Linked DNA regions of Homo sapiens: all the other regions are linked to region 4. The links are contacts of gene promoters, found by promoter capture Hi-C in human tissues and cell types (Jung and others, 2019). All regions are on one chromosome and are shown on one strand. Each heading gives the region's core, a stretch centred on a gene start or on the middle of the fragment in contact. The rest is flanking DNA. Distances are from core to core; before and after follow the strand shown. Region 1 overlaps MCM3AP (minichromosome maintenance complex component 3 associated protein). Region 2 holds the start of LOC124905030 (a long non-coding RNA gene). Region 3 overlaps PCBP3 (poly(rC) binding protein 3). Region 4 holds the start of UBE2G2 (ubiquitin conjugating enzyme E2 G2).

Evidence for each region. The method cuts DNA at HindIII sites, captures the fragments that hold promoters and counts their contacts. A contact is called where the count stands out against the background at its distance.
Region 1: a fragment that was not itself captured here is called in contact with the fragment with the promoter of UBE2G2 in region 4 in 1 of the 25 tissues and cell types used here (dorsolateral prefrontal cortex).
Region 2: a fragment that was not itself captured here is called in contact with the fragment with the promoter of UBE2G2 in region 4 in 1 of the 25 tissues and cell types used here (hippocampus).
Region 3: a contact is called between a fragment that was not itself captured here and the fragment with the promoter of UBE2G2 in region 4, in 1 of the 25 tissues and cell types used here (dorsolateral prefrontal cortex).

The regions. Positions count from the first base shown.
Region 1 is chr21:46,235,634-46,241,633 of GRCh38, forward strand. It overlaps MCM3AP (minichromosome maintenance complex component 3 associated protein), which reads right to left. Exons shown (of 28, transcript NM_003906.5): 26 at 5,178-5,384; 27 at 1,196-1,346. It overlaps MCM3AP-AS1 (MCM3AP antisense RNA 1), which reads left to right. Exons shown (of 4, transcript NR_110565.1): 3 at 5,201-5,386. Among named protein-coding and RNA genes, the nearest start is that of MCM3AP-AS1, 9.4 kb to the left of the region's middle. The HindIII fragment of the contact is 5,213 bases long and covers 1-3,857 here.
Region 2 is chr21:43,699,624-43,705,394 of GRCh38, forward strand. LOC124905030 (a long non-coding RNA gene) reads right to left here and starts at 3,677. Exons shown (of 2, transcript XR_007067894.1): 1 at 3,040-3,677; 2 at 2,109-2,369. The HindIII fragment of the contact is 8,181 bases long and covers 1-5,771 here.
Region 3 is chr21:45,916,020-45,922,105 of GRCh38, forward strand. PCBP3 (poly(rC) binding protein 3) reads left to right here. Exons shown (of 18, transcript NM_001384156.1): 13 at 1,569-1,610. Among named protein-coding and RNA genes, the nearest start is that of COL6A1, 63 kb to the right of the region's middle. RefSeq lists a silencer at 457-683 and an enhancer at 3,156-3,655. The HindIII fragment of the contact is 4,969 bases long and covers 1-4,853 here.
Region 4 is chr21:44,797,895-44,803,476 of GRCh38, forward strand. UBE2G2 (ubiquitin conjugating enzyme E2 G2) reads right to left here and starts at 3,926. Exons shown (of 6, transcript NM_003343.6): 1 at 3,812-3,926. The coding sequence starts at 3,854. LINC01424 (long intergenic non-protein coding RNA 1424) reads left to right here and starts at 4,347. Exons shown (of 2, transcript NR_109928.1): 1 at 4,347-4,742. RefSeq lists an enhancer at 3,152-4,107 and silencers at 3,655-3,714, 3,775-3,994, 4,495-4,544. The HindIII fragment of the contact is 9,913 bases long and covers 1-5,582 here.

The sequences.
Region 1 (6,000 bases), core at 1-2,500, 1.4 Mb after region 4:
TTTGTATTCTATCATGAACAATTTCCAGTGTCAGTCATTTTTCACCCAGGCTGGAACGCAGTGGTATGATCGGAGCTTACTGCAGCCTCAAACTCCTGGGCTCAAGTGATCCTACCAGCTCAGCCTCCTGAGTAGCTGGGACAACAGGCATGTAGCACCATGCCTGGCTAATTATGTACTGTAGAGATGAGATCTCTTTATGTTGCCCAGGCTGGACTCAAGCTCCTGGACTTAAGCGATCCTCCCTCATCAGCCTCCCAAAGTGCTGGGATTACAGGCATGAGCCACCACGCCCAGCCAGTCATTTTTAGAAAATATCATCGTCAAGGGCTGTGAATTATTCTATCACATGAATGTGTTATAATTGTTTAATCAGACTCCCATCTTCGGATATTTATTCTGTTTCGACTTTCATACAATAATGCTACAGTAAACATTTTTATACATTAATTTTTGGGGAATATCTGGTAGGTCAGAATTCTTTAGGTTAGAATTGGTAATTCAAAGGGTATGAATATTTTTAAAGTATTTGCCAAACTGATGAATGGAAACAGTACATCATTTTAATTTGCTTTTCTCCTCTATTGAAGGACTTCCTAAAGCCAGTCCAGGAGCACAGTTTTTACCTGTTCAGTGGCACATATCTGTGATTGAAACTCTGTTTTTGCATCTTTAACCACTGAAGGAAGAATGGTAAGGTAAAAAGACCTTAGGCTTTGGAGCCAGTTGGATCTGGCTTTGAAAAGCAACCTGACCACTCACTACTTGAACACTCTTGGGTGAGGCTCTTGACTTCTGGGAGCTTACCTTCCTCATTCATTAGTTTTCCTCAGGAAAAATTAATCCCAGAAGAGAGGTCTGGGTAATGCCAAAGCTCAGACAATATGTGCTCCAACAGAAGCTGCTGTCATCACCTTAATGCCCTTAATTACACATCAGCACACAGTTACAGGTCTTATTCAGTTCTTAAGAATATTTCAATTCTATTCTTCATTTATTTCGTAGGCAGAAACTCAAAATCAGTTGGGTCTCTTTAACAATGATATGGATAAAGTTTAAGAAAAGGTCTAATTTGAGCTAATAATTTGTCGGTCATCAAAACATCATAGGATAAATCGTGATATTACTTTTTTCCCCAGCCATTCTCTCAATCTTTAATTCTTATGTAAATGCCAAATGTATACGTTCTTCTCACCTGTGGGCTAGTAGTTACAGATGTTTTCATCACAGGTTCAATAGTGTGAGAAAGAGACACTAGAGTCTGAGGAAGATAGAGGGGAAGGGAAGTTAAATCCGTAAATGCTCCTGAGTCTTCAGACAACCATTGCTGAAGCTGATCTTCAAACCTGAAACAATATGTAATAAATTCAAAAATATTTGAGCATTAGGAAGTTAACTATTGTTCATTAATCTTCTATATATACTTAAAAACTTTTTAAGCCTTTGCTTTTTTAAAATTTTATATAATTTTTTTTTTTTTTTTTTTGAGACAGAGTCTCACTCTGTTGCCCAGGCTGGAGTGCAGTGGCATAATCTCGGGTCAGTGCAACCTCTGCCTCCCAGGTTCAAGTGATTCTCCTGCGTCAGCCTCCTGAGTAGCTGGGATTATAGGCAAGTGCCACTGTGCCCAGCTAATTTTTTGTACTTTTAGTAGAGATGGGGTTTCACCATATTGCCCAAGCTGGTCTTGAACTCCTGACCTCAGGTGATCCACCCACCTCGGCCTCCCAAAGTGCTGGGATTACAGGAGTGAGCCACTGTGCTTGGCCAATTTTATTATTATTTTTTTTTGACAAGGTCTCGCTCTGTTGGCCAGGCCGGAGTGCAGTGTTACAATCTTGGCTCACTGCAACCTTGACCTCCCAAGCTCAAATGATCTCACCTCAGCCTCCCAAATACCTGGGACTAGAGGCGCATGCCACCCAGCTAATTTTTGTATTTTTTTGTAGAAACGGGATTTTGCTGTATTGTCAGGCTAGTCTACAACTCCTGAACTCAAGTGATGTGCACACCTCAGCCTCCCAAAGTGCTGGGATTATAGGCATGAGTCACCACACCCAGCCTTAAGCCTTTGCTTTTTACTAAGAATATAACTAAGTTATGACATCAACTGAGAAGCAGAAATGTACTTATTAAAAATTTAACAACTTCCTATGATAAAGCTTAATTTAAAAAAAAAAACTAGGCTGGGCTCGGTGGCTCATGCCTGTAATCCCAACACTTTGGGAGGCCGAGGCGGGCAGATCACCTGAGGTCAGGAGTTCAAGATCAGCCTGATCAACATGGTGAAACCCCGTCTCTACTAAAAATACAAAAATTAGCCAGGCATGGTGACACGTGCCTGTAATCCCAGCTACTTGGGAGGCTGAGGCAGGAGAACTGCCTGAACCCGGGAGGCGGAGGTTGCAGTGAGCCAGATCACGCCATTGCACTCCAGCCAGGGCAACAAGAGCAAAACTCCATCTCAAAAAAAAAAAAAAAAAAATTAGAGAAACCACTTCCCTTTAATTTATAAATCCAATTCCAATTTATATTTAATGAAAAAGGTGGTATTAATCCAAAAACAACTGCTTCGATGTGTTACTTAACATTACTTGTAATTGTCTTGTTTGGCTTATCTTATTTAATTTACTTTGGTTTTATGCATCTATAATTAATTCTTCTGACATTTTCCAAATGAGTGGATTGCTGCTTATAGCTTAAAATTAACTCAAAATAATATCCCACTGCCACCTAACATACTCTAGAGCTGTCTACTTCCATATACCGGTCTTTTCAAGAAAAACAATCTTGGCCAGGTGCAGTGGCTCATGCCTGTAATCCCAGCACTTTGGGAGGCCAAGGCAGGTGGATCACCTGAGGTCAGGAGTTCAAGACCAGCCTGGCCAACATGGTGAAACTGCGTCTCTACTAAAAATACAAAAATCAGCCAGGCATGGTGATGGGTACCTGTAGTCCCAGCTACTTGGGAGGCTGGGGCAGGAGAACTGCTTGAACCTGGGAGGTGGAGGTTGCAGTGAGTCGAGATTGTGCCACTGCACTCTAGCCTGGGCAACAGAGCGAGACTCTATCTAATAAAAAGGAAAAAAAAATCTCATCCCAAACCACTTAAATTATAGAGACTGATTTTAGTAATCGGACACATTCATTCACCCTTCCAAAACATATTCATTAAGCCTCCTCCAGATGCTAGGCATCATTCTAGGTACAAGGAATATTGCACTGAAACAAAACAGAGGCCCTGCCCTAAGCAATTTATACTTTAGTGAGGAGAGACAGACAAGGAACACATAACAAGAGAAACATGGTTTGAAGATGAGAAAGACAAAGCAGAGCCATGGAAACAAGAAGGTCGGAGATGGGCAAGCAGGGCCTAACAGAAGCAGACATTTGAGTAGAGATCTGAAGTGAGTACAAGATCAGCCATGGGGATGCTGGGGAGAATGGAGGGGCTGGACAGTCCTAGGCAAAAGGAACAGCAAACTCAGAGGCCCAACTGTGAACTGCCTACCATGCTCAAGGAAGGAGCGGAGGTCAGAGAGGAAATGGGGGGCAGATCACTCAGGGCCCTGGCCACCCCTGCAAAGTTTGCCTTTGATTGCAGGTGAAAGAGGGAAACCACTGAGAGGCTGTAAGCAAGCAAGTGACACGACCTCCATCTTAACTCACTTGAAAGGCACCCACCAGGTCTACCAAGACTAAACTGCAGCCTACTGTAATAATCCAGAAGGAAGATGATAGTGGCTTGAGCCACGTGGTGGCCATGGAAGTCATAACAAGTGGTCCAATTCTGAATGTATTTTCAATAGAGCCAATAGGATATGTGAATGGGCTGATGTGAGGGGATGATTCCAAGGCACCTGATCTAGGCAGCTGGAAGGATGGAGCCGCCATCAACAGAGATGACCACCAAAGGAAGGGGTTGGTTGGAAGAAAGCCGGGAACTGGATTTGGGATATGTTAACTTTGCAGTGGCTACCAGACATCCAATAGGTGTCTAATGAAGATTTCAAGGAAGCAGTAGCATGTTCAAGTGTGGAGTTCAGAGGTTTGAGATACAAATTTGGAGCTGTCAGAATAGTGATGTTACTTAAAAATCCATGAAACTGGATGAAATTTCTGAGGAGTAGGTACAGACGATGCAGAGGAGAGGTTGAGAGAATGAATCCAGGGGGCAGCTGGGGGATGAGGAGGAACCAGCAGGGCAGGAGGGGGACCACGGACATCCTAGGAGCAAGGAGGGGAGGATCAAGTATGGGATGCTACCAAGGACTGGGATTCACGGTCATGTTCAACCCTGGGCCTTCATCCCCATGGGAAAGAAGGCTGAAGAAGTGAGTATCACAAGCGTTTTTGAGGAGTTTTACCATTAAGAGGGCAGAAACATGAAGTGGTGGCTAAAGAGGGAAGTGGGACCAAGACAGGGAGGCATGTTTCATGTCTGTGTGCTGCTGATGGGCACCACCTAATATGGGGAGGGGTGGTAGCACGAGAGAGATACTCATTGAATGAATGTCCTTGGGTAGGTGGGAGATGAGATCCCAGCCCAGGGAAGGGCTGACTGACTACGAGCTGCATGGTTCGTTTCCAGCAACAAGAGGCGTCAGGAAGGGGATATAGGGAGGATGCTGGATGTGGCTGGGAGGGCAGGGAAGGCAGAGGACAACCTGTGGAAGGTCCCTTATTCCTGATTCTACTCAGTAAAATGGTAAACATGGCCATCAAATGAAAGCAAAGGAAAGGTATGCATGGGAGGGAGGGAAGTGGGCAATGTAGAGGAGGGGCAGCCCCAGCTCCTGTCCATTCACAGCATGGGATGATCCACCAATGCCTCAGGCTCCCAAGGGCAGGGTGCCTGTGGCCAGCCATAGTGTTCAGCACTCACCATCTTCTGAGCAGACTTAACCACATGAATTTCCCAGAAAAACTTAACACTGACTTTCAATAATAAATAATAAATGAAATTCACTTCAATATAAACAGTTAGAAACATACTATCTAGGGCACTGCTTCTGTCTTCAAAGAGCTTTTAAATAGTTACATCACTAAAACTGTTGCTAATAATCCACCTGCCCTTCTCCATCCTGGCTGTCTTATATTAATCAAGCAATAACCAGTCTCCCCTCACAGCATAAAGCAGACTAAACACACATGAATTAGAAGGAAGTGGGCTTCACCTCTTGTTCTCTTCTTTCTCCAGCAGCAGACTGCTCGACAAACACTGCGCCAAGAGCTCCTCAGCAGAAGCTCCTCGCATCAGATCCTCTGTGCTGGGAATCCTCCCCTCTTGAGCACACTCTGTGCTCCTCTTCCAGTTACGGTGCATGTGAAGCAATGGTATGGGAAAATTGTTTGCAGAAGGATGAAAAGGCTTTATTGCCAAACTGTAAGTACATGATTTGAAATGTTTATGGTCAAGAGAAAATATTTCTACAGCATCATGTAAAGCATGTAGATACATTTGCACATGTGCATTAACATGTAAGAACATGTGCCTCAGACACATGTGCCCTCCTGGAACAGCTCATGCTGGCCCCATGCCTGCTTCCAAGCTTCCATCAAGTCAGGGAGTGGAGCAAAGAGGGAAGGCAGCCCCTGCACTGTAGGGACCCTTATGCACAGAGGCATTGAGACTGCCTGTTCCTCTTGGAAGCTTCTGCTCTCAAGAGGCAGCTAGGTTTTTGGAGCTTCTCTGCTTCATGTCTTGCTTCCCACCCTAGGGTTCCAGATTCTGTTCTTCCCTAGTATTGGCAAGGTTTTTTATAGATAGCTCTTGGATACATTTGGAAGTAATGTTTACAAATGGTGAGAGAGAAGGCATCTGACATTTTTTTCTAAACACATGCCAATGTTTGTCTTTTCCCCACTAATTTCAATAATTTGGCCTAACACTTTTGTCACATATTCTGACTCTTTATTCTGATCCATTTATCTACTCTGGCATCCCCACATGGTTTTAAGTACTGGAGCTTTACTGTATGTCTTGGTATCAGGCCAAGC
Region 2 (5,771 bases), core at 2,304-4,803, 1.1 Mb before region 4:
CTGGGCGACAGAGCAAGACCCTGTCTCGAAGGAAAAAATAAAAATAAGTTATGGGCAATATGGCATTGTGTCCTCAAACACTCCAGCCTGCATTACCAGGTGACATTCCTCTCTATAACTACATCGCCATGGTTACAGGAAACCAACTTAGATCAAGGACATCTTCACACAAGTTCACGTTCAAATTTCCCCCTAGTTGTTCTCAAAACATTTTTTCTTACCGGGAAATAACCAAGGATGTGCAGTGATTCTTGTCTAAAGTCTCTCTTCCAGAGTGTCTGCCCCTCATTTTTTCTGATACTGCATTCTTGAAGAGTGTGTATAACTTTGACCCCGCAGCCCAGTGGGTTGCTTCTGATTGCCCTGGGGATGATCTAGCAGGGTTGTGGCCTGTCCACTCTGTCACAGGGACCCCTGTGTGGGAAGTCCTGGACATCCAACGCCCCTGACAGTGCTCAGCCCCTGATTGACGGCCTGGTTGCTATGACAACTCCAACCTCAGCTTTCCAGCTTTCTCTAGGAAGGGATAACCCCCCTTGGCCCAGCATCAGGACCCAAATCCAGAGCTCACAGGCTGGTTTCCCCGACTTGGTCCTAGTGCAGCTCAGGGCAGCACGTGGGCTGGCGTCTTCCTGTGTGTCCAGGCGGGCAGCCCGAGGAGGCCTGTTGTAACCCAGCCAGAGTGCTGAGCCGGCACCGTGGGGACACAGCAGACTCCAAGAAGACATCATCTTCTCCCCAGAGCTCCTGCTTCTCAAGCACAAATTGTCATCTAACTTTAGTCTCTAAACTGTGGATCTACCTAGGACCACAGAGATCAATAAATTCCAGGGTTAGCACAGCAGGCAGCAGACACATGGCTGGTTTTTGCAGCGCCTGAGAATAAACTATTATTGTACCAACTTCCCAGCTACGTACCGCTTTTCTATAAATGAAACATAAGCCAAGCCAAAGTTTTGTTTAAAAACATAAAGCTAAATGCAGAAACATGACTGGATTTAGGTTTGTTTTCTGAGCCTACAAAGCCTGCAGGAACCAGGACATTGCTGCTGCCTCTGAATGTTCCGTTCCTGCTTTGAAGTTCCCAGGGACTCCGGAAAGGAGGGGCTGCCTGCAAAGTTACAGAACGCCGACCCCCAGTGCCCCGACCAGAACGCACGTGCACACTCACATGCAACAGCTGCAGATGGCCGGGCGCAGTGGCTCCTGCCTGCAATCCCAGCACTCTGGGAGGCTGAGGAGGGCGGATCACTTGAGCTCAGGAGTTCTAGACCAGCCTGGGCAACATGGTGAAACCCCAACTCTACCAAAAATACCAAAAAATTAGCTGGGCGTGGTGGTACGCACCTGTAGTCCCAGCTCCTCAGGAAGCTAACGTGGGAGGATTGCTTGAGCCCAGTGGGCAGAGGTTGCAGTGAGCCAAGATCGCACCACTGCACTCCAGCCTAGGTGACAGACTGAGACCCCATCTCATAAAATAAAAAAAAAAACAAAAAACCACACACACACACACAGCTGCAGCCAGGTGAGGGCCCCATCCTCGGACGCACCCACACACTGACTCACTGAAGGTGGGTGCAGATCAAGGAGTCCCAGGCACTCTCTCCTTTGATAAAAATGCTTGGCACGCCCGCCGAGTATCCAGGCAGTGCCAGGCGCTGGGATACAGGCCAGAAAGACAACAGGGACTGCTTGGAGTCCAGGGACCAGAGAGGAGATGAGACCTGCGACACCATGCAAGCCACAGCTGTCACTTTCAATTTCCTTGCACACTTTTTGTTTTGTTTTTGAGACTGAGTCTTGCTCTGTTGCCAGGCTGGAGTGCAGTGGCGCAATCGGCTCACTGCAACATCCATCTCCCGGATTCCAGCGATTCCCCTGCCTCAGCCTCCCGAGTAGCTGGGATTACAGGTGCGCACCACCACACCTGGCTTATTTTTTTTTTGTATTTTAGTAGGGACGGGGTTTCACCATGTTGGCCAAGATGGTCTCAATCTCCTGACCTCATGATCCGCCCACCTCGGCCTCCCAAAGTGCTGGGATTATAAGCGTGAGCCACTGCACCCGGCTGTAGACACATTTTTTAAAAGAGAAAAAGAAACTGTCAATCTTTTTAAATAATGTATTTCCAAAATATAATTTCAACACGTAATTAATATTAAAAAGTATTAAGATATTTTGCAGGCTTTTTTTTCTGTAGTAAGTTTCCAAAACCAGGCGTGTATGCTGATGGCACGCGTCGCCTGGCACTCTGGAGTCACATGTGGTTGCAGCTATGATATTGGCCATGGCGATTCTACAGCTAAAGCCGAGAGGAAGTTTGTCCAGAGAACAAGTCGGGGTGGGGATCTCAGTAGAGGGAACCGCACCTGAGTAGAGGCACAAAGGAGGGAACAGCCAGTGCAGCCAGGATGTAGGGGGGCTGGCCAGGGACGGCCATGGGGGCCGTGGGGGCCGTGGGCAGGGTTTGGGCTTTGTCCTGTGCACACTTCAGGAGCCACTGGAGAGCACCCACCAGGCAGCAGGGGAAGGAAGGGTCAGAGGCCCGGATGGACCAGAGGCGGGAGGGCAGCCAGGCCTGGGGCCCACACCTGGGCTCAGCGGGCAGGATCGGAGGACCGGCTTCTGGTTGATGTGGGGAGGGCCCAGGGAGAATGGGGAAAAGAAGACAGGGAGGTTTCCAGAGCGTGTCGGCCTCTCTCCTCGTTTCCTGATCCACCTCATCTCCATGGGCACGTTTTCCTTCTGAGAAGAGCTGGGAAGCCCGTCAGCAGGCGGGCCTCTGTCCTCACCTCCACTAACCTGGCCCTTGCAGGCGTCCCAGGCTTCCAGGGCCAGCCCCCTGGGGTTTGGCACCCTGCAGCCTCTGACTTTCTCTTCACTGCTCCTTTGGGAGCACGTGCCAGAAGAGACACTGCCTCCGTGGCTGGCACGGACGACGACGCCCAGCAGGCAGCTGTCTCAGGAGGACAGGCCCAGCTGCAGGAAAGGGCAGCCCCGGGCTTCTGGCAGGGGCTGAGGCAGGGAGGCCAGCCCTACCTGGGGGCTGGAGGTGGCGTTGAGTGGGGGTGTAGGGGGTCCGCAGACGGCAGCTGAAGCCCCTTCTCTGCAGGTTATGCTGGTGCGATTCCCTTTTAGGAAGTAGAGTCCGTGTGGAGAGAACGGTGAGCCGCCTGCGTCCTGTTGCGATTCAGCCCCTGTGTCTTCCCGGAGGGCCCTGCGCCCGCCTTTTGTTCCTAGGACTCGGTGCCTTTCTGAACCCAGTCTAAAAATTGCCGCAGCTCTTTCTGGCGTTAGTCACTGCCTGGTGATTAAGGCTTCAGTCCGTCAATCTTTAAATCCTACAATTATTTCTCCACCCAGGTTTTTAAGAATAAAAGTTGAAAATGTACTGAACTGACAGCTACCGGATTTGATTCCTATTTGATTCGTACCTTTCCCGAGTGGCCCCGATCGCCACCGCAGCGCCACGTCCTGGCAAATCATTCACGCCGACCTTGAGAACTCAGCAGAGGTGCAGACTGACACTCAGCCCCGCCCCCTATCACGGGCTTTCTGCGGGTGAAAGGAGACGTTGCTTTTGTTCCCCACAAGCAACTGCAGGCAGTGCTACTTATTTTTAACACAGTTGAGCGGGCAACTTTATCTTAAATGATTATGTGCTGAAATCTGCTGATGAAAACGCTATAAGATGGGCATGGGCAGGGGTGGCCGCCAGATGTGTTCTGCGTGACAGCTTTTTCTGAACCTGCTGGACAAAGTCCCCACTTGTTGCCCGCTCAGCCCCGGTCACAGCCCCACCTCGCCGGGGCTTGTCTTCAGTTCCTCACACTGCCACGCTCTTGACCCACTCATTGGCCTCTTTGTGGGGACCCTTCAGCCAGAAGGCCCTTCCCCTTTCCTGCCCAGCTCTGGCCCAGACCTGCCACATGGAGGCTGTTAGAGGTGGAATGTCTGAGGCCTCCAAATGCATGTGTTGAAACCTAATCCCCAGAGGGATGGTATTTGGCGATGGAGTTTCCCAGAAGTGGCTTGGTTTGTGCTGGCTGCTATAGCAAGTACAGTCATGGGTCGCCTAGTGAGATCTGTTTTGAGAAATGCATGCTCGGGCGATATCACTGTCGTGCAGACCTCACAGCATTCACTCACACAAACCCGGCTAGCACAGCCCGTGACACACCTCAGCCCTGTGCTGTAACCTGCTGTTCCCAGGCTACAAACCTGCAGAGCATGTCACTGCACCAGATACTGTGGGCCCCCTTGACAGTGGTGAGCTCTTGTGTATCTAAATACAGAAAAGGCATAAAAAATAACGTGCCAGCCGGGTGCGGTGGCTCACACTGTCATCCCAGCACTGTGGGAGGCCGAGGCGGTTGGATCACCTGAGGTCAGGAGTTCGAGACCAGCCTGGCCAACATGGTGAAACCCCGTCTAAACTAAAAATACAAAAATTAGCTGGGCATGGAGGCACATGCCTGTAATCCCAGCTTCTGAGGCTGAGGCAGGAGAATCGCTTGAACTGGGGAGGCGGAGGTTGCAGTGAGCCGAGATCACACCACTGCACTCCAGCCTGGGTGACAGAGCGAGACTCCATCTCAAAAAAAAAAAAAAAAAAATACGGTGTCATCATGTATGGGACTATCTATGGGACTTGTGGCACTTGACTGGACCATAAACTGCTTATAAACAACAGAAATTGATTTCTCAAAGTTCTGGAGGCTGGAGGTCCAAGATGGAGCACCGGCAGATCTGGTGTCTGGGAGAGGCCAGGCAGCTCTTTGGGGCCTCTTTCACAAGGGCACAAATCCCATTCCTGAGGGCTCCCCGCAACGACTTCATCACCTCCCAAGACCCCACATCCTGATACCCTCACCTTGGGAGTTAGGTTCAACCTATGCATTTGGGGGGACACACTCAGTCTCTAGCAGTTGGGTAGACCCAAGATTGCCCTCAGGAGCTCCTTTGGGAGGCGCTCTCTATTGGGTCCAGTGCCAAGAAAAAATATCTGACTTGTATTTTGTAGAGGCTATGTTATTAAAAAAATACATCTTTAGGTTGGGCACAGTGGCTCAAGCCTATAATCCCAGCACTTTGGGAGGCTGAGGCAGGTGGATCACCTGAGGTTGGGAGTTCGAGACCAGCCTGGCCAACATGGCAAAACCTCATCTCTACTAAAAAATACAAAAATCAGCTGGGTGTGGTGGCATACGCCTGTATTCCCAGCTACTCGGGAGGCTGAGGGAGGAGAATCCCTTGAACCTGGGGAGTGGAGGTTGCAGTGAGCCGAGATCGCGCCAGTGTACTCCAGCCTGGGCGACAGAGCAAGACTCCGTCTCAAAAAAAAAAAACTTTAAACATGAGAGAGCCTCTCAGCTTGACAGCACTCCTGCGGTCACAAACACAGACGCGGCCACGAAAAAGAACGAGATCATGTCCTTTGTAGCAACATGGATGCAGCTGGAGGCCACTGTCCTGAGTGAATCGATACAGGAGCTAAAAACCAAATACCCCATGCTCTCAGTTACAAGTGGGAGCTAAACATCGGCGCCCATGGACATAAAGACCACATGCTCTCAGTTACAAGTGGGAGCTAAACATCAGTGCCCATGGACATAAAAGACCGCAACAGTAAACACTGGGACCACCAGAGAGGAGAGGGAGGGAGCGGGGAAGGGCTGAGAAACCAACTGCCGGAGACTATGCTCAGTACCTGGGTGCAGGATCATTCGCACCCCAAACCTCAGCATCACGCAGTATACCCAGGAAACAGA
Region 3 (6,086 bases), core at 1,119-3,618, 1.1 Mb after region 4:
GGGGGCACCCAGCAGCAGCTCCTGTCAGCCACCACCGCGTTTCTAGCACGACATGGTCGTGAGTTAAATCAGCAGAGCCTGCTAAGGGACGAGCAGATAGAAAACATAACAGTAAGAAGATCAGTCAGAAAACTCGCGTGGCCCAGGATGCAGGATGCTTGAGCTCTTGTGGTTCAGCTCAGACAGTTGGGGCTGACCTGGGACCCCGTGCGCTGAGGGGGCGGCTCCCAGCATGAGTTCCAGGGCCCCTCACCTTCGGTGACACATGGGAACGTGCCTCTGGCAGCACCTTTACAAAACACTTGCAGGTGGCCCTCAAGACACTTTGTACAGGACAGTGAGGTCCTTGGTTCCTGCTCTATCTGATAAGATTCTTTTACTTCCTCAGCTGACGCAGCACTGTGGCCTCACAGCCCTGGGGCTTGTTTCAAAGCTGGGCTGCAGCCGGGTCCCTGTCTGGAGGTTGACTGGCCTTTAACTCCGAGGATTGGGTTGTTTATGATGAAAACTCTTGGCAGATTCAAAACCCATGGGAGGGTTTGGGCTGCACAGAGGTGACACACATCCTTCCCTGAAGTGTCCCTCTCTGGTGCACAGGGTCCCCCCACCCCCACGTGTGGTCACCGCGAACACCGATACCACGGGTCCTCATGGGAAGTGGCGTGGGGCCCGCACAGCCAGGGGCTGGTAGCCGCTCCCTCCACCCCCAGGCTGCCACCAGGCCTGGTGCAGCCCTGTCCATGTCCCGAGTCCTGACAGCTGTTCGTGGTCTTCACTCTCCCTTGACTCTGTGTGGTCCATTTGTTGTCTGGCCATGAGTTTCTGAATCACCTGAAAGCGTCTCCACTGACGGGACCTGTGGGGCAGGTGGGGCCTCTCTCACCTGCCCGGATTTCAGAGTCAGGGTGGGTGGGAAGAGGCTGCAGGTCGGAGTCACTGTTTTGAAGGCGAGGGAAATACTGAAGCCAAAATGAGGCCTCAGGAGCCCCACACGATGGCTTGGGAGGGGTGTATTGCTGCCCCCACGTCAGGAGGGCCACCCCCTCCCTGTCTTCAGGGCGGTCATGAGAGGCAGCAAGCTGTGACTGACGTAGACCCACTTCCTACGTAGACTGGCTTTTGGTGAATTGGTTTTGGTCACCTTTTAGAGCTTTCTTTTGTTGTTTGGACTTCTTGGGGTAAATTATTTCCCAAAAGTATTTACTCAGATGACTGATTAAATTTTCAAAACCGTAATAATTAGTGGAGACCTCTTACTGGGCAGATCACTCTTCGATTCTTTTGCTTTAAGAAACTTGGAGTCGGAAGCATCAAGGCTGAACTGTTTCCCTCCCACCCGCTGAACTGGCCAGCTCAGCTCTGCCCGCCCAGAGGAAGTGGGTGCGGCTCCCCTGGGGCTCCTGGTGCCCTGGGAGGGTTGGCCCTTTGTCCTAGGATGGGGACAGGTGGAGAGGCACACGAGGGGGAAGCTTCTACCGGAGGGTCCTTGTCATGCTGGAGGGTGGCGGCGGGTGCTGAGCCGTGGTGCAGCCAGGTTGCAGTCTGACGGGGTCTCTCTCTCTCTCTAGGCCTACACAATCCAGGGACAGTATGCCATCCCTCACCCGGATGTGAGTCTTCACTTTGTCTTCCTCTCACCTTTCTCTTCTCATGGTTGTTTACCTACCTGCATGCTGCTGTTAATTGCTACTAACATTAATATTACACAATAATATTAATCAACTTCTCAGCGTTCCTGACCTGTGTCGTATCCATATGACCTCGAATAACCTTTTAACCTCTTAGCACTAATTCTGCTTGTGTTGAGGACTTGGCCTGATGTCAAATTGTCTCAATTCTGCCGCAGTCCTGGGTTTTCCTCCCTCCCACGGGGCCTGGGAGGGAACTGAGACGGGCTCTGTCCCCGTGCAGGGCAGTGAGGATGTGCTCACCCGCCACAGGCAGGCGTCAGTGATACTTTCTCTGCGCCTAAGAAGTTGGGTGACATTATCAAACAGGCCACAAAGATACCTTGGCAAGCACATTTGAGGGCCTGGTGAAATTAACTCCCCCTTTCAGAGTCCACATGAAAACATAGGGTCCATCTACACACACAGATCCAGGCTGTGGAAAGCCAGTGGAATAGGCCTTTGTCTTCATTCCAGAATCAGTGGGATGCCAGGCGGGCATAGCGTCCTTGGCTCCGCCCGGGCCATGCGGAGCTGGGTCCCATGCAGCTCCATGACCGGGGGCTCCGACACCTCTTTTCTGCTCCTGCTGGGTCTAGGTGTAATTCCAGTGCTGGAGGAAGAAGTTACCCTCAGATAAACGGTCGGTGTAATTCCAGTGCTGGGGGAAGAAGTTACCCTCAGATAAACGGTCGGTGTAATTCCAGTGCTGGGGGAAGAAGTTACTCTCAGATAAACCGTCGGTGTAATTCCAGTGCTGGAGGAAGAAGTTACTCTCAGATAAACGGTCGGTGTAATTCCAGTGCTGGGGGAAGAAGTTACTCTCAGATAAACGGTCGGTGTAATTCCAGTGCTGGGGGAAGAAGTTACCCTCAGATAAACGGTCGGTGTAATTCCAGTGCTGGGGGAAGAAGTTACCCTCAGATAAACCGTCGGTGTAATTCCAGTGCTGGGGGAAGAAGTTACCCTCAGATAAACCGTCGGTGTAATTCCAGTGCTGGGGGAAGAAGTTACTCTCAGATAAACCGTCGGTGTAATTCCAGTGCTGGAGGAAGAAGTTACTCTCAGATAAACGGTCGGTGTAATTCCAGTGCTGGGGGAAGAAGTTACCCTCAGATAAACCATTGGTGTAATTCCAGTGCTGAGGGAAGAAGTTACCCTCAGATAAACCACTGGTGTAATTCCAGTGCTGGAGGAAGAAGTTACTCTCAGATAAACCGTCGGTGTAATTCCAGTGCTGGAGGAAGAAGATACTCTCAGATCATCCATCGGAGGGGAACCCTGGGCGGCTCTGGGCTGTGCGGCTCAGACCCCTTAGGGGCCAAGAGATAAAAGGTGCAAACTGTGAGCAAAGGGCCTCTCTGGAGGCGGCTTTAGGGCCCCCAGGGAGTGACGGCCGCACTGGCAGGCACTGGGGAGAGGAGAGGGGAGAGCAACAGAGAACGAGAGACAGACGGCCCCACCGGAAGTGCTTCGTGCTGTCAGCAGATGGGGCAAACCTGGAGTTGGTTCTGAGGAGGTTTCTCTTCTCTAAACCATTTTGAACGTTTGCCCAGCTCAGTAGCTGCTCCTCGTAACGCAGTTCCAGTCTGTGTGCTGCTCCCTCTGAACTGCGAGAGGCGCCTCTGAGCTGGTTGGGAGGTGGCCGCCAGGTGAGCGGGCTGCTCCAGAGCCTTCTGCAAACCCTGATGCTTTTGAGTTGGGGGCAAGGACGTCCATCTGAGTGAGATGAGAAGGCAGGTCAGGAGTGTTTTTAAGAGTTAATGAACATTAAATAAATCTTTGATATAGAGATGCAATTTACTATCATTGCAGGAAAATTTATATTGAATGGAGAATAGATAACAATAGTTATTCCATTAAAGGCAACACATGAATCAAATGGTAGAGAAACGCTGATCAAGAAAAGCCTTTCCCCACCTGCCCCAGAGGCCGTTTTTAGTGGTTCCTGGCGTCAGACCTTTGGTGATGCTGCTGTAGCTACATCAAGGACATCTCATCCTGGGGTCAGCTGTAGACACCAGTGCCTGACCCCACTAGGAAGCCGGGCTGTGGCCACCACACACCGGAAGGCACTGTTGGGGCTGCCCCAGCCTGCGCCCAGCAGCAGCGTTGGGCAGAAGCAGAGGTGTGTGTGTGTGTGTGTGTGTGCGCGCGCGCGTGCGCGTCCCCGTGCATGTGTGTGGCAGGGGTGTGGGGGGCAGGTGTGATGTGTCCTAACAGAAAGCCTGTGTGAAGGAAGATGAAGATGGAAGCCAGGGGAGTCAGAGGCGACTTTCTGGGGTGGCCCAGTTCCATTAAGGACTCAGGACAGGTGGTCACGCACATCTAGAGATGCACGTGTGCAGAGGCAGGTTCCAAAGGGGGGGTCACTTGACTTTGCAAAGCTCTGGAACCCAAAGGAAAGGCAGTGTGCGGTGCCCTTGGTAAAGGGAAGGTTAGTCGATGGGGTCAGGGTTTGTGTTTACCCCAGACAGTCGCCCTGAAGTTGGATGCTCAGACCTGCAGGGACCCTCTGGTGACACCTTACGGATTTCCTGTGGCCACAGAGCCTAACGTTCTCACTGTGGCCTTTGGCTGAGCACCCGTCTGAGCCAGAATGCTTGTGGTCTGAAATTTCCAGAGGCCGTGGCTGTGTGCCACGGTGGGACTGCAGGACCCTGATGTTTGGTGATTGGCTTTTACTTCGATTGGTGGCTTTGCTCTTTCTCATGTGACTTTCTCAGTATCTCTTAGAAATGGGTAGTTGTGCAGATTGTTTCAAATTAGTTTAATGTATAACTAACTGTTAAGAGAACTGCCTCAGTGCATGTGGTAATGATTTGAGATACCTGGTGCTATGGTTTAAATATGTCTATTCCTCCACAATTTCTCTGTTGGAACCTAATCACCAAGGTGACAGTATTAGAGGGTGGGGGGTCCCAGGGCTGGGGAGTGATTGGGTCATGAGCGCTCCACCCTCGTGAACAGCATTGGTGCCCCTATAACAGAGGCCTCAGATAACAGAGGCTTCAGATAACAGAAGCTTCAGAGAGTGGCCTCCCCTCCATCCCTCCTGTCATGTGAGGACAAGAGCGTTCAGGCACCATATTGAAAGCAGAGACTTGGCCCTTCCCATACACCAAACCAGCCAGCACTTTGATCTCCAGTTTCCAGCCCCCATAACTGTGAGCCACACATTTATGCTGTTTCTGAATTGCCCGGTCTAAGGCATTTTGTCATAGCAGCAGGAGTGGACTAAGGCGCTTGGTTCTTTACTGTGAAGTATCTCTCTGTGGAAGACATTCTGTTTCTACATCGGTGTCATGAGATTTGCAGAGCAGCTGTTATTAATAGAAGACTGGAAGCTTCCATGGTGCTTTTCTTGCAGGCGTGTAAAATTGAAGACTTGGACAATCACTTAATCATTAAACACAAAAATAAAATGATTGTTTAGTGACATAGGTAACAATAGTCAGGAAGCAATTTGTATCTGAGCTTGGTATTTAGTAGAAATTTTTAAAGCATCGGTATTTAGTAGAAATTTTTAAAGCTTCAATTTCTTACTATATCAATATAATTATAGAATATGTTGTTTTAATTTATAATGTAATTGAATACAAAGTTTATTTATACCACAGTGCCGGCTTATATACAGATACTAGAGTCATTTTTTAGGAACGTGATATTTGACCTGGATGTGTGGGCCCATGAATAAGAAACATCAAGCATAAGAAAATACATTCCTTAGGTTTGAGTATTTCTTTATGTAAAACTAAAATATGCATGTGTTTTCTGTGCCCAGTTTTAAAAAGTGTTTTTAGCTTGTTCTTATTTAAGAATCATCTGGGCTGGGCATGGTGGCTCAGGCTGGGTGTGGTAGCTCAAGCCTGTAATCCCAGCCCTTTGGGAGGCTGAGGCAGGTGGATCGCTTGAGCTCAGGAGTTTGAGACAAGCCTGGCCAACATGGCGAGACCCCGTCTCTACCAAAAATACAAAAAAATTTAGCCAGACGTGGTGGCACACGCCTGTAGTCCCAGCTACCCGGGAGGCTGAGGCGAGAGGATTGCCTGAGCCCGGGAGGTGGAGGTTGCAGTGAGCCAAGATCATCCCTCTGCACTCCAGCCTGGGCGACAGAACGAGACCCGTTTCAAAAAAAAAAGGAGTCATCGGCACTGATCTGCCTTCGCCTGCTTTTCTCCAGCTCCTCACACGCCACATGCATCATTTTACCCACGTCCTCCTCGAGGCTTACTGTGCTCTGGATGTGCAGGTGTTTTGAAGAGGCACAGAGCTGCTCGACAGGGTGAAGGACTTAGGAGGACTGAAGTCAGGCTCTCCAGTATGGCCACTCGGCAGCCCTGGAGACTATCCATGTGCCTCTGTGTGTCCTGCCTGGGTCAGACCAAGTGCAGTTTCAGAAATGAGAAAGAGAAACAG
Region 4 (5,582 bases), core at 2,676-5,175:
ATAGTCCCCCACATCCAACCCTCTGTTCGAGTATGAACATTGTCAGAATCAAAATGGAGTCACTTTCGCCAAACCCTGACAACATAGAGGGAGGTCAAGATGAAGACAGAAAAATCAGCCAGGTGTAGGGGCACATGCCTGTAGTCTCAGCTACTCAGGTGGATTAAGTGAAAGGATAGCTTGAGCCCAGGTCAAGGCTTGCAATGAGCTGTGGTTGTGCCACTGCACTCCAACCTGGGTGACAGAGCAAGACCCTGTCTCAAAAAATAAATAAATAAATAATTATTATTTGCCAAAATATGCTTAATTTTTATTGCTAAAAAATGCTAACAATCATATGAGCCTTCAGCAGGTCATAATCTTTTTGCCGGTGCAGTCTTGCCCGGATATTGATGACTGCTGACTGATCAGGGTGGTAGTTGCTGAAGGCAGGAGTGGCTGTGGTAGTTTCTGAAAATAAGACAACAATTAAGTTTGCCACAGGGACTGACTCTTACTTTCACAAAAGATTGCTCTGTAGTCTGTGATGTTGTTTGACAGCACTTTACCCACAGTGGAACTTCAGTCAAAACTGGAGTCAATACCCTCAAACCCTGCGGCTGCTTTATCAACTAAATTTATGGAATAGTCTCAATCTTTTGTCATTTCAACAATGTTCACAGCATTTTCACCAGGAGTAGATTCCATCTCAAGAATCACTTCTTTGCTCATCTGTAAGACTCAACTCCCCATCTGTTCAAGTTTGATCATGAGATTGTAGCAACTGAGTGACATCTTCAGGCTCCACCTCTAATTCCAGTTCCCTTGCCATTTCTACCACACCTGCAGTTGCTTCCTCCCCTTAAAGTCATCCATGAGCATTGAAATCAACTTTTTCAAACGCCTGTTGTTGATATGGTGACCTCCCATGAATCACAGATGTTCTTAATGCCATCTAGAATGATAAATCCTTTCCAGAAGACTTTTGATTTTCTTTGCCCAGATCCATCAAAGAAATCACTTTTCATGGCAGCTATGGCCTTATGAAATGTATTTCTTAAATAAGTCAAAAGTGCTCCCGGATCCATGGGCTGCAGAATTGGTGTTGTGTTAGCAGGCACAAAAACATTTATCTCCTTATACCTCTCCATCAGAGCTCTTGAGTGACCAGGTGCACTGTCAGGAATAGTATTTTGAAGATAATCTTTTTTTCTGAGCAGTAGGTCTCAACAGTGGGCTTATATTCAGTAAACCATGCTGTACACAGATGTGCTGTCATCCAGGTTGTTTTTCCATCTCTAGAGCTCAGAGTAGATTTAGCATAATTTTTAAGGGCCCTAAGATTTTCTGAATGATAAATGAGAACTGGCTTCAACTCAGTCAACTTAAAGTGACCGACATTAGCCCCTAACAAGAGTCGCCCTGTCCTTTGAAGCCAGTCATTGACTTCTCTCTAGCTGTTTACGTTGTATATGGCATCATCTCCTCCCAATACCGTATAAGGCTATTTTACGTACCTTGTAAATCTATTGCTTAATTTAGGAGCCACTTTCATCTTGATCTTAGCTAGATCTTCTGGAGACCTTGCTGCTTCACCTTGTGCTTTTCTGTTATGGAGACAGGTTATTTACTTCAATCTCATGAACCAACCTCTGTTAGCTCCCAATTTTTCTTCTGCAGCTTCCTCACTGCTCTCAGCCTTCATAAAACTGAAGAGTTAGGACCTTGCTCTGGATTAGGCTTTGGCTTAAAGGAATGTTATGGCTGGTTTGATCTTCTATCCAAACCACTAAAACTTTCTCCATATCAGCAGTAAGGCTTTTTCACTTTATCATTCATTGTGTTCAACAGAGCAGCACTTCTAATTTCCTTTAAGAACTTTTCCTTTGCATTCACAACTTGGCTAACAAGAGACCCAGCTTTCAGCCTATCTTGACTTTCAACATTCCTTCCTCACTAAACTTAATCATTTCTAGCTTTTGATTTGAAGTGGGTAGAGTGCAACTCTTCACTTCAACACTTGAGCCCACTGTACAGTTACTATTGGCCTAATTTCAATGTTGTTTTGTCTCAGGGAAGAGAGAGGCCGGGAGAGAGATGGGGAAACAGCCAGTCAGTGAAGCACACACAACATTTATTAGGACTACCATCTTTTATGGGCATAGTTTGTGATGCCCCAAAATAATTACAATAGTAACATCAAAGATTACTGATCATAGATCACAGTAATAGATTAAAATGTAAGAGAGAGACACGAAGCGAGCAAAAATGGTGCCAACAGACTTGCTTCCATGCAGGGTTGCTTGTAAAAAACTTGTAAACTTGTAAAAAATGCAAGATCTGCGAAGTGAAGCTCAATAAAGCAAAGCGCGCGGGAAACTGAGGTGTGCCTTTATGTTCTGCTTTAGCAGACACTAGGTGGCGAGCGTTATTTGAACGTTTACAGGAGGCCCTGTGTATCTGCGGCTGCATATCCATGGATTCGACCAACCAGGAATACAAAATATTTGAAAAAAATAACAATAAAAAATGACGATTTAAAAATACAAGTAAAAAAAATCAGTGTAACTATTTGTGCAGCACTTACATTGCATTAGGTACTATAAGTAACCTTGAGATGATTTAAAAGTTATGAGAGGCTATGCATACATTAAATGCAAATACCACGCCACCTTATAGTAGGGACTTGAGCATCCGAGGATTCTGGTATCTGCAGCGGGGCCTGGAACCAATCCCCTCCAGATACCAAGGGAAGAATGACCATACGTGAGTGAGCCTGTATTTGCAACGTTTTGGTCTGCTTAAGCCAAACATCAACTCTTACTGGGCGGTGTCACCAATAGTTTTACGAAATCAAGCTACATGTATATTCACCACTTATTTTTTTTCTCACATTCATTCTTTTAGCTTAACTTTCTTCCAAAATTATCCTCAATCTAATTACAAAAGCAGCAGCTAACTTTATTAAGGGTTACACATCAGGTATTTTGCTAAGCACTTCACCTGCAGTATCAAGTTTAACCTTTTAAGACAAGGAAACTGCAGAGACAGAGAGAGGAACAAGGTCAAAGAGCTAACAAGCAGAGAGGCCGGGTCTGAACTCAGGCCCTGCTCTTAGCCGGCTACTATCTCGTCTCCATCGGCGACTCAGGCTCCTGGCGCTTTCAACACAATGGTATTCCAAGACTTCTCGCAGCAGTTCTTCCAAGCGGGCATTCGGTGTAAAACGATGGAATGCCGAGTGTTCCTAGGTTCTCATTTCTCCCTTCGCTCTCCTCAGACATTAGAAATATCTAATTTACCGGGTAGGAAAGCACTCAAGAGGTTTCCTCAACACTACCTAGGAGGAGTGACAGGTGGCACTGTTCAAAAACCCTTTTCCTTCATTAGAGGGAAAGCCAAAATCTGACCTTTCAAAGCTCCACCAACGAGCCTTTCCCCTTTTAACGCATACACTTTTCCCTCCTAATTCCGCAGCAGCAAGTCAGGCCTTCTTCCTCAAGCTCTCACTGCACGTTCTCAAGGCTGCCAAGAAAAGAAAAAATAGAAGAGAAAAAAACAAGCCCGCAAAGACTCAACTGTGTGTGCTCTCAACTAACACGGCGCCGGCGCTGCCTTTACTGATGCTGGGAAGGCTTCTCTTCACGACTTCACGCGTGAGAGTGGGCAGCGGGCGCAGGGCGCGGCACTCCGCGGGACCCACAGGGGGGCTCACGGTGGAGGCCCCGGGCCCGGCTCCCCCGCCAGGCTCCCTGCCCCAGCCCCGCCGGACGACGCGGGCCCGGGAGCAGGAACGCGGGACGCTGCTGACGGCCCGGGTCCCCAGACTCACGTTTGTACTCGGCCATCAGCCTCTTGAGCGCGGTCCCCGCCATGGCCCCGCAACAGCTGCGCCGAGCGACCTCGCCTCAGCCGCGCGCGTGCCTCCTGCCCCGACACCGGGGACTGCTTCCGGGCCACCGTCGCGGGCCCAGGAACTCTTCCGGGGCGTGGCGCGTGCGCGATCGCCGAGGCGCGCTGTCCGGGTGGTGGGAGCTCAACCCGCGACCGCGGCTACGATTCTCTTGGCTCCTGCCCTCGCCTTAGTCGCTCTGCGGGGTTGGTTCGGTCCCGGCACTTCCAGAGGCCTCAGGGTCCTGGTCTTGTAGAGACTTCCTGAACGGTGGCGCCTGTTCCAGTGTGTGTGCGCTAACTGCCTGTTCTGTGCCAGCCGCGCGTGGCCGAAGGGCGGGAGGACGGGGGTTGTGGAGGGGAGGATGGAGGTTGGGGAGACAGGGCGGGGACGAGATAAGAGGTCGGGGGGTGGGGAGGATGGTCGCGGGGCGGTCTGGGGCTGGAGACAAGGGGCCTGAGGTGCGGGTACGCACTGAACATTCCAACCGTCCCCAGCCGGCCGGGTTTCAGGTTTGAAAAGGTGGGAAGGTTAGCTGTCCTGGCGCTTTTCCTCCACGTGTTGTGCGGCTCCGCTGGAGTTCGGGTCCAGCACCTTCTACTCCGAGGGAGAGAGCCGCGGGGAGAGCCCTGTTCGGGCCCGCGGCTCGAACTGACCGCCGGCTCTGCCGAGCAGCCTCGACCCCAGGGCACCCCCGGGAGAGAGGGCGCGGCTCAGGTCCCTGCCCGAACCCCTGGGGTGCTGAGAGACTCCCCAGCGCCCCGCGTGGGCTCCCGGCCTCTCCACAGTTGAGGATCCTGTAAGGGGCGAGCCCTTTTTCCCATAATGGCTGTAGTGAGTGGGTGTGCTTTCCCGATTGACCCGCTGTGAGGTGAGCGATTTTAACCCACATCCTTACTGACTTCACAGCACAGTAGGTGCTTCGTGGCTGTCCGGTGCAAGGATGTATATACACACACACCTTTGCAAAAAAAGTTTGCATCTCTTGCCTGGCTGTTTGTTGCAATAATCTATCATTTGTCTTTTCCTTTCCAGCATTGCAGATGATCCCTTGAAAAGAAGTCTGATCACATTCACACTCTGCTCCGCCCATTTCACTCAGTAAAGCTGAAGTCCTGCAGTGCTTTGCTCTGCCTCCGGTCACCCCGCCATACTCCCAGACCCTCCCTCCCTCTCACTCCACTCCAGCTGCCCTGGCCTGGTTCAGAGTCCCTGACTCTTCCCTCCCCGGAAACACTTTCTGGCGGCTCTTGTCCCCGACTCTTCCCACCTGCTCTTTCAGTCTTTGCTCAAATGTTGCCTCTTCAGTGTGGCCTAGGCCGTCACCACCCGGCCTTCACCGCATACCTTTTTCTCTGCAACACCTACTCAACACACCGTACTATAGAACTTACTGGCATGCTATAAATGTATTACCCTTATCTGTTGCCTCTAACCAAAAGCGTGTTCCATGAGAGCCATGGGTCCCTGCCTACTTCTGTCTTGTTTCTGGGGCAGCCTCTGTACCTGGACATCGTATACTCTTAACACGGATTTGTCAAATCAAATGAAATTTAACAATACAAACTTCACAAGTATGCATAGTGTAGGAAAATTCCCCAAAATTCAAAATTTCAGTCTACCTCCATCTTTTCAAATGACCACAGTGCTTTATAAAATGACATGGTCCTTTGAGACTGTTTCAGAGAGTAATTTGTGCAAATGCAATGTG